Linked DNA regions of Homo sapiens: all the other regions are linked to region 2. Evidence: promoter capture Hi-C in human tissues and cell types (Jung and others, 2019). All regions are on one chromosome and are shown on one strand. The core of a region is centred on a gene start or on the middle of the fragment in contact, and the rest is flanking DNA. Distances in the headings are between cores, read along the strand shown. Region 1 overlaps SHISA6 (shisa family member 6). Region 2 holds the start of DNAH9 (dynein axonemal heavy chain 9). Region 3 overlaps SHISA6 (shisa family member 6).

Evidence for each region. The method cuts DNA at HindIII sites, captures the fragments that hold promoters and counts their contacts. A contact is called where the count stands out against the background at its distance.
Region 1: a contact is called between a fragment that was not itself captured here and the fragment with the promoter of DNAH9 in region 2, in 2 of the 25 tissues and cell types used here (H1 embryonic stem cells and spleen).
Region 3: a contact is called between a fragment that was not itself captured here and the fragment with the promoter of DNAH9 in region 2, in 2 of the 25 tissues and cell types used here (H1 embryonic stem cells and mesenchymal stem cells).

What each region holds. Positions count from the first base shown.
Region 1 is chr17:11,453,707-11,458,758 of GRCh38, reverse strand. All of the region lies in intron 3 of SHISA6 (shisa family member 6), which reads right to left. Among named protein-coding and RNA genes, the nearest start is that of DNAH9, 140 kb to the left of the region's middle. The HindIII fragment of the contact is 3,898 bases long and covers 1-3,295 here.
Region 2 is chr17:11,596,601-11,601,205 of GRCh38, reverse strand. DNAH9 (dynein axonemal heavy chain 9) reads right to left here and starts at 2,736. Exons shown (of 69, transcript NM_001372.4): 1 at 2,291-2,736. The coding sequence starts at 2,707. The HindIII fragment of the contact is 9,113 bases long and covers 1,414-4,605 here.
Region 3 is chr17:11,365,248-11,369,626 of GRCh38, reverse strand. All of the region lies in intron 2 of SHISA6 (shisa family member 6), which reads right to left. Among named protein-coding and RNA genes, the nearest start is that of SHISA6, 130 kb to the right of the region's middle. The HindIII fragment of the contact is 3,398 bases long and covers 965-4,362 here.

The DNA of each region.
Region 1 (5,052 bases), core at 97-2,596, 140 kb after region 2:
GTCTAAATCTGGGAGGAGCATTATGCTATCTTCTCAGGAGAGTAGCATGGGTCAGAAGATGCTGCACTGGAGGCTGGTTCTCCCAGAAGATAGAAAAGTGGGTTTGTGCACTGAATAAGGGGGCCTGGCTCAGCCTGAGAGTTTGCAGAGGGGCCCCTCATCCTGGCCATCAATTGTCTGCATCCATAGTTTGGTCTCCTCCAGGAGAGCAGATCCTTTCTACCAAACAGCCTCATCCATCCTCATTAGCACATGGTCTGCTACACTCAACAGCGTGGCGACAGAAATCATCACTCCTTCTTCGGCGTCTGCTTCTGTAGGGCTCAGAGCTCACTCCTTGGGATATTGAGCTTTCTTTATTCCCTGACAACACACCCAGGGGAGGGGAGAGTGAAGAACAAAGAGAGAGGAGGAACATTACTATCAGAGCCCACCAACTAGCTTTGCAAGGTTGACTTCTTTTCATCATTTCATTAAGGTAACATCACAATAGGCAGACATGTTCACCACCTACAGATGAGAAAACCGAAGCCTGAAGAAGTTGCATTATCACCCAGAAGATACTCACTGGTTGGACTTAAGATAAGTCTGGTGAAGTATTTAAGGCAATTCTTAACACATGGTAAGTGTAAGACCCTGTTTTTTCAGGCATTCTATTTTTTTTTTTTTTTTTTTAGACAGAGTCTCGCTATGTCATCCAGGCTGGAGTGCAGTGGCGTGATCTCGGCTCACTGCAACCTCTGCCTCCCAGGTTCACGCCATTCTCCTGCCTCAGCCTCCTAAGTAGCTGGGACTACAGGCACCCGCCACTAAGCCCGGCTAATTTTTTGTATTTTTAGTAGATACGGGGTTTTACCACGTTAGCCAGGATGGTCTCAATCTCCTGACCTCGTGATCCACCTGCCTCAGCTTCCCAAAGTGTTGGGATTACAGGCATAAGCCACCGTGCCCGGCCCAGGCATTCTCTATTTTTATGGAAGGCATCTATCTATCTCATCTGTCTTTTTTTTTTTTTTTTGAGACTGAGTCTCACTCTGTCACCCAGACTGGAGTGCAATGGCGTGGTCTCGGCTTACTGCAACCTCCACCACCCGGGTTCAAGCGATTCTCCTGCCTTAGCCTCCCAAGTAGCTGCGACTACAGGTACATGCCACCATACCCAACTAATTTTTTTTTTTTTTTTGCATTTTTAGTAGAGACAGGGTTTCACTATGTTGGGCAGGCTGGTCTCGAACTCCTGACTTCGTGATCTGCCTGCCTTGGCCTCCCAAAGTGCTGGGATTACAGGCATGAGCCACCGTGCCCGGCCTATCTCATCTACCTTTATGGAAGTTAATGAGAAACTGGCATTTCCCTGTGCAAGGAAAGCTTCTATTCCAAAAGACAGATTTTAACCTGTGTTGTAACTGTCGACTGCATGGGTGGTGGTGTAATTCAGAAAAGCTTCCTCGGGAAGACTGAGGATTGATGGATTAGGATCAACAGTAAAGGAGAAGGAGTGCAGGGTAGAGATGAGTGGCAGGGACACCACTGGGGAGCTACGGAATGGGTACCAGGGAGGGCTGCATGCATTCGAAACGCTGGGGCCCTTTGGAGACTTTGGGGCATCATAAATATTCAGTTGGTCACCATGCATATTCAATGAGGCAGAGATTTGCAGATAGGCTCTTGAGAGAGCTGGAACTGACAAGGGGGACTGACTTCTTTTAAGAATCTCCCAATATCAAGGGAGCATACGGCACAGCAGAGAACTGGATGAGATTGTAGGTAGTGGCAAAGAGCCAGAAGCTTCGATGAAGGGAAGTGGATGAGTGACAGCCTACAGGAGCTGAGGACCCTGCTAGAAAGACTTGAAAAGCATCCCCCAGTTGAATGGCCAGGGTACACAGTGGAATTGTGGGTCTTATTATTTCTATCTGTGTGTAACACTCTATAATCTCTGGGGAGTTTTTCTTGCTTGACAGGTTCTTATAAAATCCCAGAAATATAGCCCTAAAGAGAATATTTGAGACAGCCTCCAAGTCCTGCAGTTCTTCGTGTGCAGAGGGGGGCGGTCCAGCCCTGGTGAGGGCTAAGGGCTCAGGTCCCCTCCCACCTCCGACAGCGTGGCCTCAAGGTCATTTGCTTCACTTAGGAGGTTCAAAGAACTATTTCACTGGAGGACATGGCTCTGCAGCTACAAAACAAAATGTGTGAAAACCAACTATCTTGTCTGAATTCATCATCTTATGGATGTAGATGCCTGGAGCTAGAGGAGGGAAGAGTCTTAAGTTAGTGGCAGAATCCAGGCTAGAACTTAGCTGTGCTCATACCCAGGGTCCAGTTTCTGCTTATTTCTGTTTGTGAAGGAGACTGCTTATGGAACCAGGTGACTGTCGGCACACTGAGTGCCTCTGGAAGGCACTTAGGAAGAGGAGAACTCCCCTGGGAAGTCACAGCCCCAGTGAGCAAAATGGCTCCCTCCACCAGGTGCCTCGGTGCAGAGCACAACCGGTATGACCATCCATATCAAGTAACAGAGGTGGGTTTGGCAGGGCCCATGTGCTGTTGGTGTATCCTCCTCCCTCCCTCCGGTCCTCCGTCTCCCACCACTTTTTGAAAATGTGCATTTAGTAAATGCCTCCTGCATGCACAAGGATGCTTTCATGACTCATCTCATAAAGAATGCCCTTGGAAAGGTAAAGCGATGGGTTTACATTTACAAAGCGCCTTTCTAACCATGACAATTTTAAATTGTTGGGAGGACAGGTCTGGGTGCTGTTAAGACAATATGGACTTCCATATATTTGAACATCTACGGTCAAACCTCAATCCTTCACGCACCCTAGAAGAAAATGCACTCATTTTAGTATCAACAGGATTTGGAGAATATCTTAAAATGATGTGTATTGCTTTGAGTGCAAAGGTACTCCCAAGAGCTTTTCGATGACCAGAAGGGTTTTCGATGGCCAGTAGGTAGTGCACCCACTGCAGATACAAATAGTACCCAGCGTAGTGCCCTGCTGTGAGGATGTCGCCTTCTAAAATGGAATGTGACCCCTCTCCCATGGTTTCTGTGCAAATTGGGGGTGTCAGGGAAAAGGAAATGCTCAGCGGGGTGAGAACCTTTACTCCTGGGCTCTTCTGGGAGCAAAGTGTGAAGGGTCTGTGTTCTGTTCTTGTGAAGAGTGCCATTTGGGTGTGACGCTCTCCACGCTTGTACACACACTTCCACGCTTGTACACACACTTCCACGCTTGTACACACACTTCCATCTGTGCAGACTCAGTAAATATTTGTGAAAGGAATAAACAGTTTTGTTCTCCTAAGAAGGCTGGAACTCCTCTTCCATGAATTTGCTTCCATCATTATTATTTTTAGTCTCACATTTACATCACGTTTGCTGTGTGCCAGGCATTGTTGTAGGTGTTCAGCATATGTTGACTCATTTCAATTCTAACCTTATGAAGTAGGTGCTATTATCCCATATGAAATCTCCACAAACTCCCTCTCTTTTATTTTATTTTAAATAAGGAGTACAGGATGACATTGCATTGAGTCATTCATTCATTGAACTGTTTTTTTTGTTTGTTTGTTTGTTTTGTTTTTTTGAGACAGAGTCTTGCTCTGTCGCCCAGGCTGGAGTGCAGTGGCGTGATCTCGGCTCACTGCAAGCTCCACCTCCTGGGTTCACACCATTCTCCTGCCTCAGCCTCTGGAGTGGCTTGGACTACAGGTGCTCACCACCACGCCCAGCTATTTTTTTGTATTTTTAGTAGAGACAGGATTTCACCCTGTTAGCCAGAATGGTCTTGATCTCCTGACCTCGTGATCCACCCACCTTGGCCTCCCAAAGTGCTGAGATTATAGGCATGAGCTACCGTGCCCAGCCCATTGAACATTTTTAAAGCACACCTGCTATGTGTCAGGAACTGCTCCAAGTAGGAGTGACAACCAGGATGAGTTCTCTGCTCTGAAGGTTCTCCCATTTGAATCGGAAAGAAATAGATAACAAATGAGTGAACAAATGTCTATAAAAATAACCCATTTGGATAAGCGCCATGATGGACATGAAGGGCCTTTGAGAAAGTGGCATTTAGACTAGGGCATGAAGGAGCCACACGCCTGGAGCACAGAGAAAAGCATTTCACAGTGCGGGCAGGGTGTCCACAGGCCTGAGGTCTGGGATGGCTCAGCTTGGTCTGGGAACTCACAGGAGGCTAATTGACTGTGCAGGACAATGAAGAGGAAAGTGGAAAATTGGCTGAGTGTAGCCATGGGCCAGAATGCAGAGTCCTCTGAAGGCCAAGTACAATGGGATGTCAATGGGAGGCTTGAAGTAAGGAGTTATCTGATCAGATTAATGTCTGAAAAGGATCACTTTGCCCGCTCTGTGGAGAACAGGCTGTAGGAAGAGGGTGCAGAGAGGATGTCGGATGTGGGCAGAGAGGATGAACAGTAGCTCCTGAAGAAGCCCAGGCGAGAGATAACGGTGACTCACTTCAAGGAGGCTGCAGTGATGATGGAGGAGGAGGGAGCATTGGAAGCTATAGTTTGGAGGTAGAACCTTGAAGATGTGCAGAAATAGATTGAATATGGGGAGTAGGAAGAGACAGCGATAAAGAATGATTGCCAGGTTTTGACTTTAAAAATCGAATGAATGAGACGCACTCCAGAAAACAGTTTAGCTTATTGGTTTATATAAGCCAACACGGATTACTGATTTAACTTATAAAATTAAACATAAACATACCATAGGACCCAGCAATCCCTCTCCTAGATATTTACCCAAGAGAAGTGAAAATTTACATCCAAACAAAAGCTTGTACCCTAAATGTCCTTCAGTGGGTAAATCGATAAACAGAGTGTAGTACGTCCTAACCCTTAATCCCTGGCAACAACTGATCTGTTCTCTGTCCCTATAGTCTGACCTTTTCCAGAATGTCATATTAATGGAATCATAAGTTTGCAACCTTTTGAGACTGGCTTCTTGCATCTCGCATAATGCCTTTGGGATTCATCCATGCTATTGTATGCTTTGATAGTCTATTCCGTTTTTGTCGAGTAGTTTTC
Region 2 (4,605 bases), core at 1,487-3,986:
CTATGATGGATAAATTTTTTAGAAATGTGGTATATACATACAATAGAATATTGTTAAAAAAAGAAAGAAATCCCGCATATGACGATAGGCGGTGACGATATGGATGAACCTTGAGGACATTATGCTAAGTGACATAAGTCAGTCAGAAGGAACAAATACTGCATGATTCCACTTATATGATGAGTCAGGTTCATAGGAACAGAAAGTAGAATGGTGCTAGCCAGGAGCTCAGGGGAGCGATGTGTGGCTTGCTGGGTGTGTGTGGAGTTTCAGTGATGCTGGACGGGGCAGTTCTGAGGATGTGTTGCACAATAATGCATATGTGGTTGACAATATTGTACTCTACACTTGGAAATTGTTGGGTGAATTTTACGTCATGTGTTTTTTTTGCCACAAGGAAAAAATTACCCTAAGGAATAACTCCGGTTGGACATGGTGGCTCACACCTGTAATCCCAGCACTTTGGGAGGCCAAGGCAGGAGGATCACTTGAGTCTAGGAGTTTGAAACCAGCCTGGTCAACATAGCAAGACCCTGCCTCAAAAAAAGGAATATTCCATATCAGTCATTCTTTTTAATAGTTGCAAAGTATTTCACTGTATAGATGGCCCATAATTCAGTCACCCAGTCCCCTGTTGATGAACATTGTTTGTCTCCAATCTCTTTCAATGCACCAATGAAAATTCTTAAACATTCGAGAATTTTCATTATTTTAAAATTATTTTTCTTGCTGGACTACTTTGCTTGGCCATGACACAACTCTGAGATGGGCCTTCTGTCTCCCACATACACTAGGTTAAATCCTGTCTCTGAACCTTTGATCAGTCTGCTCTCAGTATCTTGAAAGTTACCTTGCTCTCTACTTATACAAATTCTTCTAATTGTTCAGGAGACAATTCAACACTTATGTTAAGCATGCTTCTCAGATCACAGGCCTGTCTTTCTCCTCTGAAGCCAAAAGTACTTTCTATCGTCAACATTCATTAGAGAAGCTGATCTAAGTTCAGGCTTCAGCGGGATGGCTTTCAGACAATGCACAGTTGCAAGACCATTCTGTTTGTTAAAATATTGAAATACCTCCATATCTAAGAGATCTAGCTTCCTGGGCCCTCTGTGTCCTCCTCTATCTATCCAACCCTTTCCCTGGAATTTTCACCTCCCCACAGCCTCCTGATACACCATCTAAAGGGCTTACACTTGACATAGCAGGGAGACTCCAGGACTTGCATCCAGCAGTGGGGCCAACTTTTAGGTAAGCTTTACCCTCACCCCAGTCTTAAAAGTTTGAAACATTTTGAATATATGAATTATTACATACGTTTCAGCTCCTTGGAGTAAGCATTTCATGGGTGGGAATAGTTCTTTGGTATTCCCTATAGCACCTATCACCTGAACCATCATACAGCCAGTATTCTGCCCATCCTTATTTCACAACCTGCAGGGTCCAGGGCATCAAGCCTCCATAAGCACACAGCCTGACTTGCAGGGCAGTTTACTCCCATTCCAGAAAGGTCTAAGGGGCCCAGGAATCTCTCTGGAGCACTTCCCTGAAATCTCCTGCATTCTCGAAGCTTCTGCTGTGGTGCCACTAAAGCACTCATGACCCACATCTCCACCTTCCTCCCTGAGCTTCAGGCAGACTCCTCCAAAGGCCTGCTGGGCATTTCCAAATGGGAGCCCAACTTCTTATGCTGGCACAGGGCTGACCTTTGCTAAATGGTTGGTAATGAATGAATGAGATGAAAATCAAAAGCAAATCACTACCCACCTCCCCCTCCCATTTAACTGCTCTCCAGAAGTAGGCACTGTTTATAGCCATCCACCTCCTTCCACCCCACTGATCCATCAGAAATGCCGTCTTGTCCACTTCCCATCTTCTTCAGATCTTTCCAATTTACAGGAGGGATTACGAGAGGCTGATTTTGAAAGTAGTCAGAACCTAGGCACTCTTCAGATTATGGTCTTCCCCTGACTTTGGCTGGAACCCAGACCCGGACTGACCCAAGCCTCAGCTCCTTCCCATTCTCATTCTGGCCTGGCCTCCACCCAGATCCCTCCCTCCGGACCCACCCGACTCCGCCCCTAACCCCATCCCATTTTCTTCCTGACTTCAGGAACTTCCCTCCTGGTTGTGCTCCCTCCACAGCCTCGCCCCTCTGCCTATCACTCCGCCTCTTGGACCTCCCCTGCAGCTTCGCCCCGCCCCCTCTGGCCCCGCCTCCGTCCCTTAAGGCTCCTCCTCCCCTCCCCCACCCAGCTTTAGCCGCGCGGGGACACTAACCCACCCTCACCTCCGAGAACAGCGCGGCTAGGTGCTCCAGAGGTGCCGCGGGCAGGTCCCCGCAGACCACTGCGCCGCGGAAGCTGTCGGGCCCTGGAGGCTCGGGCCCGGTGCGAAGGAAAAAAAGCGCCTTAGCGCCAGCCAGGCCCGACTCAGGTCCCACCTCCAGCCCGGGGCGTATTGCCAGGCCCCTGGGCCCGGGCCGCACCACCAGCAGCGGCCGCGGCCCCTCGGCAGCATCGCGGCCCAGGAAGGCCTGGAGCAGCTGCTCCGCCTCAGCACTCCCCGCGCAACGCTCCCAGGCGCCCGCAGCCGGCCGCAGGCTCATGGCCACGTAGGTCCCCAGGAGTCGCAGTCGTCGGTCGGCGCCGGGTTCCCCATCCGCGTTCTCCGCCGCGAGCGCGGCCCGCTCCTCCGCGAGCCGCATCGCGCGCGGCCTCCAGCTGCATCGGTTTCCCTAGCGACGGGGACGCGGCCAGGACTCACTCCTCTGCTCCCTTCCTATTGGGCACGGACCCCTGGTCCCGCCCCTTCCAGGCTAATAAGGTAGGAGGTGTACGCGGGAAGGGGCGGGGTCGCGTCGCTGTTGCTAGGACACCAGCCGAGACTCGTACTCAGTGTCTGCCTGGTGTATTGGGAGTGCTGAAGTGTGACCGTGGAGCGCAATGGCTTATTGATGGGCTGCGTGGAGAGGAGATCAAGCATATAAATGCTGTTAAGGATCGTTTTGGCCAAGGTCGAATTAGAGTCTTTAGAGGTCTCCAGACACTGAAAATAGTGTGGTCCTCTTACCTCTATCCTAAATGTGCAATCCAGACTTAAACACAATGCCAAATCATAAAACAGATTTAAGGACATTCAGTGAATTTTATTTCTTTTCCATGATGGCAAATTAAACACTTCAGAACAGTGCTGTCCAGTAGAACTTTCTGCGATGATGGAAATGTTTTCCATCTGTTCTAGCCACGCATGGCCTATAAAGGAGGTGAAATATGCTCGTCCCACTGAGGAAATTTTTAATTTTACTTAATTTTCACTTAAAATTAAATAGTCACATGTGACTGTAGTTATATCGAACAGCTCAGCTTCAAAATTTTAATATCAAGTTTTTTTAAGTTTTCTTCCGTGCCTTTCTTTGCCCATGTTTTTTAAGGCATGTGCTTAATCTTCTAAAAATGTAACCAAACTGTAAGAGGCTTGTTTTTGAGACAGAGTCTTACTCTGTTGCCCAGACTGGAGTGCAGTGGCCGGATCATAGTTCACCGCAGCCTCAAATCCCTGGGCTCAACTGATCCTCTGGTCTCAGATTCCCTAGGAGCTGGGAATACAGGCGCCACCACATCCAGCTAATTTTAAAAATTTTTTGTAGAGATGAGGTCTCGCTGTGTTGTCCAAACTGGTCTTGAAGTCCTGGACTCAACTGATCCTTCTGCCTCAGCCTCCCAAAGTGCTGGGATTATAAGGATGAGCCACCATGCTAGAGTTTTTGACTTCCATGGGTATGACCACTAATCAGTTCTTACTAAATGTAGCAAAGTACTTGTAAATATGCAGGATGCTCAGAACCTTCCCATCCTGCCCTATACCTGGATATTGGCTTCAAAAAGGGATAATATAAAGTGCCTTGCCTGACCTCAGAAATTAGCATTTGTTACCTGCTTAGTCCTTCTCCATGGTCAGGATAAACAGCTTGGCCCTTTGCATGCATGTAAGGTGACAGTGCATGGGTGCTGAAAAAATGGACAAACAACTTGGGCAGCATGAGGTCTGCAGGACTGAATGAGCTCCCCTCTGCCCTGCCATCCTCCCTTTAGTCACCTCCCAGGGACTGCTGAGTTTCTGGGTAAAAGGAATGTTTATAATGGGTTTCAAAGGAATATTAACAGAATAAGCACTTATCAATGGTAGCTTGGCTAACAAGAGCCCCTCGGGAAAACACCAGTGGTTGGGAAGTAAAATGATTGATTTCATAATAACTGGAGCAAAGGAGTTGCTGTAATAAAAAATGTTCATGTTAGAAATGAATCTTTATGTTTGTAAAGGGTGTTTCATCATTGCTGGATTAAACAATAATCAACCAACTATGAGGAAAGGGAAAAAGTGGGAAACTAAAACAATCTTTAGGATGAATTTGGTAACTGACATTTCAAGAAGAAGCATCAGGGAAAAATAGTAATGTCAGGGGCTTCTTACACATATCGTTTTTTGTTTATCTTTGCACATAGGAAGGCATCGTTATTGTTTTAGTGCTTAGGGACTTCAAATGTGTCAACTATGCTCATGTTTCGTATACAGAGTGACTTCAGGACCATTAACTTTCAGTAA
Region 3 (4,379 bases), core at 1,414-3,913, 230 kb after region 2:
TACAGGTTAGACCTCATGGCTCTATTAAGAAATGAAGGAATTGTCAGTTTCCTCTTGTCACCCTGCAGATGCATGGTGTGTTAGCCCATGGGGCAACTGAGACCTGCTTTCCTCTCTGTTTCTTGACTTCTTCTCACATTCTGCAAAAACACTGAGCGTCCTATGAGTGAATCCAAATGAATGAGTTTTAACTAAATGATCCTGAGAAACTGCCACCGTCTTAGATAATTTTATCATGTGCCTTTGGACTGAGACATTGGTGATGAATGCCTTTTAACATCTAGAGGAAAATGTGTGAAGAAAATATTGACATTCTCTATTTGCCAAAAGAGTTAAGTCTCAGAGAGGTTAAATAATTACACAAAGTCACAAAGTGACTAAGCTGTGATTTAGGATGGACTCTAAATTCCCTGTCTTTCTATGCTGGGAGTTCCTTTCATTCCACCATACTTGCAAAAAAAGCTAAGCCTGAAGTGCCAAATGGCCCTAGGCATATCTCAGTAACATAGAGGCGATAAAAGCATAGACTTCCAATAAGTCTTTCTGGTTCTGGGACTAGCTGTGTGGCTCTGGATGAACCATTCATGCTTTCTAAATTATCTTCATCTGTAAAATGGGAATGGTGCCTCGCTCATGAGGAAGGGATGAAGACTAAATTAAGTACAATAATTCGGCCGGGTTCGGTGGCCCATGCCTGTAATCCCAGCACTTTGGGAGGCTGAGGTGGGCGGATCACGAAGTCAGGAGTTCGAGACCAGCCTGACCAACATAGTGAAACCCTGTCTCTACTAAAAATACAAAAATTAGCTGGGCATGGTGGCACGCACCTATAATCCCAGCTACTCAGGAGGCTGAGGCAGGAGAATCACTTGAACCTGGGAGGCAGAGGTTGCAGTGAGTCAAGACTGTGCCACTGCACTCCAGCCTGGGCGACAGAGCAAGACTCTGTCTCAAAAAATAAATAAATAAATAACCGAACAAACGAAAAACAAAAAACCCCAACAATTCATATAAAGCACAGTGCCCCTTACAGTTATTTGATAAATAGTTACTATCATTACTAGTACTACTACCATTACTACTAGAAGAGCAAAACTCAAGTATACTGAATATTTCAAAATATTCCAGGGAGAAAGTCAAGGAAGAGTCTTAAGTCCAAAATTATTCAAAGCTCCAGGAAGGACTCTTCTCTACCCCATACTTCTGGGAGAGTATCAGTTTTCATGCTGGTAATGTCATGGTTTAGGGCACTCACTGCGATTCTCCTGAATGTGCTTTGGAAAAAACAGACCCGCTAATTAAGATTAGTAGGAGAAAACACGTCAGCTCATCTCACCTCCAAAAGGAAGCGCTCCATCTCACACCTGCCTGCACTGGTTCCTCTGTGATTCTGTGATCCCTGTCTTGCTCCTGACATGCTGGGAAATTTCATGTTTGTGTGGGTTGGACCATGTCCTTGGCTCTGAGACAGAATTTGCTTGGACACACCGAGTCTTGTACTGTATTGTCCAAATGTAGTCACGTGTATAGAGCGTCTTGTGGGATTTTGTCATCTATTGTCTCTTGATTCTTTGGAAAAGTGGGTCATGTGAGTGACTTGGGGTTAGATTAATTCAACTTTGGGAAGATGATGGAACTATAAGCACTCTAGGTGGGGGAGCTGTCCGGCCAGCATCTGCTCAAGGGACCACACCTCTTCCCAAGCACCTAAGAGAGAACTTTCCAACCCAGAGCAAAATAAACAATTGGAGAGGGAGAAAATTTGAGGGGCTAAACTATTTTTCAGACTGTAATGCCCAGTAGGAAGGTGATTTCATTTGCAGACTGTTATACCCTGAGCCTTCCTTGCCTCCTTATCCAGTTGTGTTGGCATGGTCCATCCTCAGCATCCTCAGCCTCCATCTCATTCCATGCATTCACTCAGCAAAACCGCCAGTGGTGAGAGCCCACCAGCTACATCTAGTAGATGTGGGACTTTAGATGTAAAGGGCTTAGAACAGCACCTGGGGTGTGTTCACCAATATCACTGTGACTGCCCAGGGTCTCTTAGAATTGAGAACCACAAGTTTCAAAGGGCCCCTCACCTCTTGGGAATTGTGCTTTCCTTCCCTGGAATGTTGGTTCTTCCAATTCCCAAATGTTTTTTATAGTTTCTGCTGTTCCTGAAACCTCCAGTGTTCCCTGTTCTCTGTGCCCTTCAACTCATGACCTTGCCTCATCGGAAAGGAACTCTGTTGTTCACAGGGAATTTACAGCCATCCCCTTTCTCTGTCCTCCCTGCTATGAAAGTGAGTCCAATGTCCTTGTTCCAAGCATGGCCTATCCCTTTTCATCATCTCAAGGACTTAGCTCCTGAAATTCTCCCTCTCCTCCTCAGTCATCAATTTCTCTCCCTCAATGGGCTCATTCATACTGAAACTTCTCAACTCTTATGACTTTACATGTTCTATTCTCCCTTCACCCCATTCCCCCAGCCAAGTCACCGTCCCATTTCTCCACTGTCCTTCTCTATGAAATGTCAAAAGAGTTGCTGATAGTAACTTTCTTTGCCTCACAGTTTGTCCTCAATTCCCTCTTGCCCATCCTGTAGGTCTGTCTGTCCATCTCTCCTTTCCGTTCTTCTTATCACCATAAATCCTTATCATATGGATTAAAGTCCAACCTAATTCAGTATGACCTCATCTTAATTTGATTATATCTGCCAAAATCCTGATCTCAAGTAAGGTTCAGCAATTCGGACTTCAACATATCTTTTATGGGGGCAAAATTTAACCCATGACAATGGCCAAAAGAAAACTTTATTCCTGCAACCCTCCACATACACCATTTCTCCTCCAGTCTTTCTTGTCATTGCTTCCTCTGTTCTAGAGCCTTTATTCCTCTCTTCATCTTCTCCTCCCTATCATCAGCAAGGCCCATCAGGACGATTTGCAAGCTTCATTTCACATCCACCCACTCTTCTCCATCTGTCCTGCCACCTCCCAGGAGTGCTGCCACCATCCCTCATCTGACCTGCTACAGCAGGAGGACTGAGCTTCCTGCTTCCACTCCTTACCCACTTCCATCGACTCTCTAGATTCTCTGCATAACACACAGAAAAGTCTTCTCCTAAAAATAGACATCTGCTCATTCTATGCCTCTCCTTAAAATCTTCCAAGGCGTCATATTACACTTAACATACAAATGTAGCTGGGCACAGTGGCTCATGCCTGTAATCCCAGCACTTTCTGAGGCCAAGGCAAGCAGATCACTTGAGCTCAGGCACTTGAGACCTGCCTGGGCAACAAGGCGAAACCCCACCTCTACAAAAAATTAGCTGGGCATGGTGGCATGTGCCTGTAGTCCCAGCTACTCAGGAGGCTTAGGTGGGAGGATCACCTGAGCCCGGGAGGTGGAGGTTGCAGTGAGCCAAGATCCTGTCACTGCACTCCACCCTGGGTAACAGAATGAGATCTTGTCTCAAAAATATACATATATACAAATGTAAAATAATCTACAGGACATTACACACCATGGCCCTGCCAGCTTCCCTCCCTCACACCACTTTTCCCTTGGCTCCCTATAGCCATAGCAAATTCCTTCTGTTTTTCTAGCATTCCCAGCTTATGCCTGTCTTACATCCTTTGCACTTGCAGTTCCCTCTTCCTGGAACTCTCTGTCCTCAGATGTTTGTAAACCTAGATTCTTGTTAATCATTTAGATTTTTATTGTAAGGCTTGCCTCCTGAGAGAGACTTTCTCTAATCACCCAATCTATTGTAGGCTCCCCAACATTCTCTATCACATTACTGTATTTTCATCAAGGGCATGTATCATTCTATAAAACTATCTTGTTCACCTACTTGGTTATTGTTTATTGTCCATCTCCCTTCTTAAAGCTTCCACAAGAGGGATATCCTGTACCTAGAGCAGTGCTGGGCACATAGGATATATCTGTTGATAGTTGCCAATGGATTAACGGACTAAATGAACTTCTCTCAATATTATTAAATTCCTGTCAACTGTCTAAGAAAACTTTATAACATAAAAATATAACTTTAAAAATAATTTGGCTGAGTGCAGTGGCTCACGCCTGTAATCCTAGCATTTTGGGAGGCCAAGGCAGGTGGGTCACTTGAGGTCAGGAGCTTGAGACCAGCCTGGCCAACATGGTAAAACCCCATCTCTACTAAAAATACAAAAATTAGCTGGATGTGGTGGTGAGTGCCTGTGATCTCAGCTACTTGGGAGGCTGAGGCAAGAGAATCGCTTGAATCTGGGAGGCAGAGGTTGCAGTGAGCCAAGATTGTGCCACTGCACTCCAGCCTGGGTAACAGAGTGAGACTCCAACTCAAATAATAATAATAATAATAATTTCAACCAATAATATCCTTATATGTA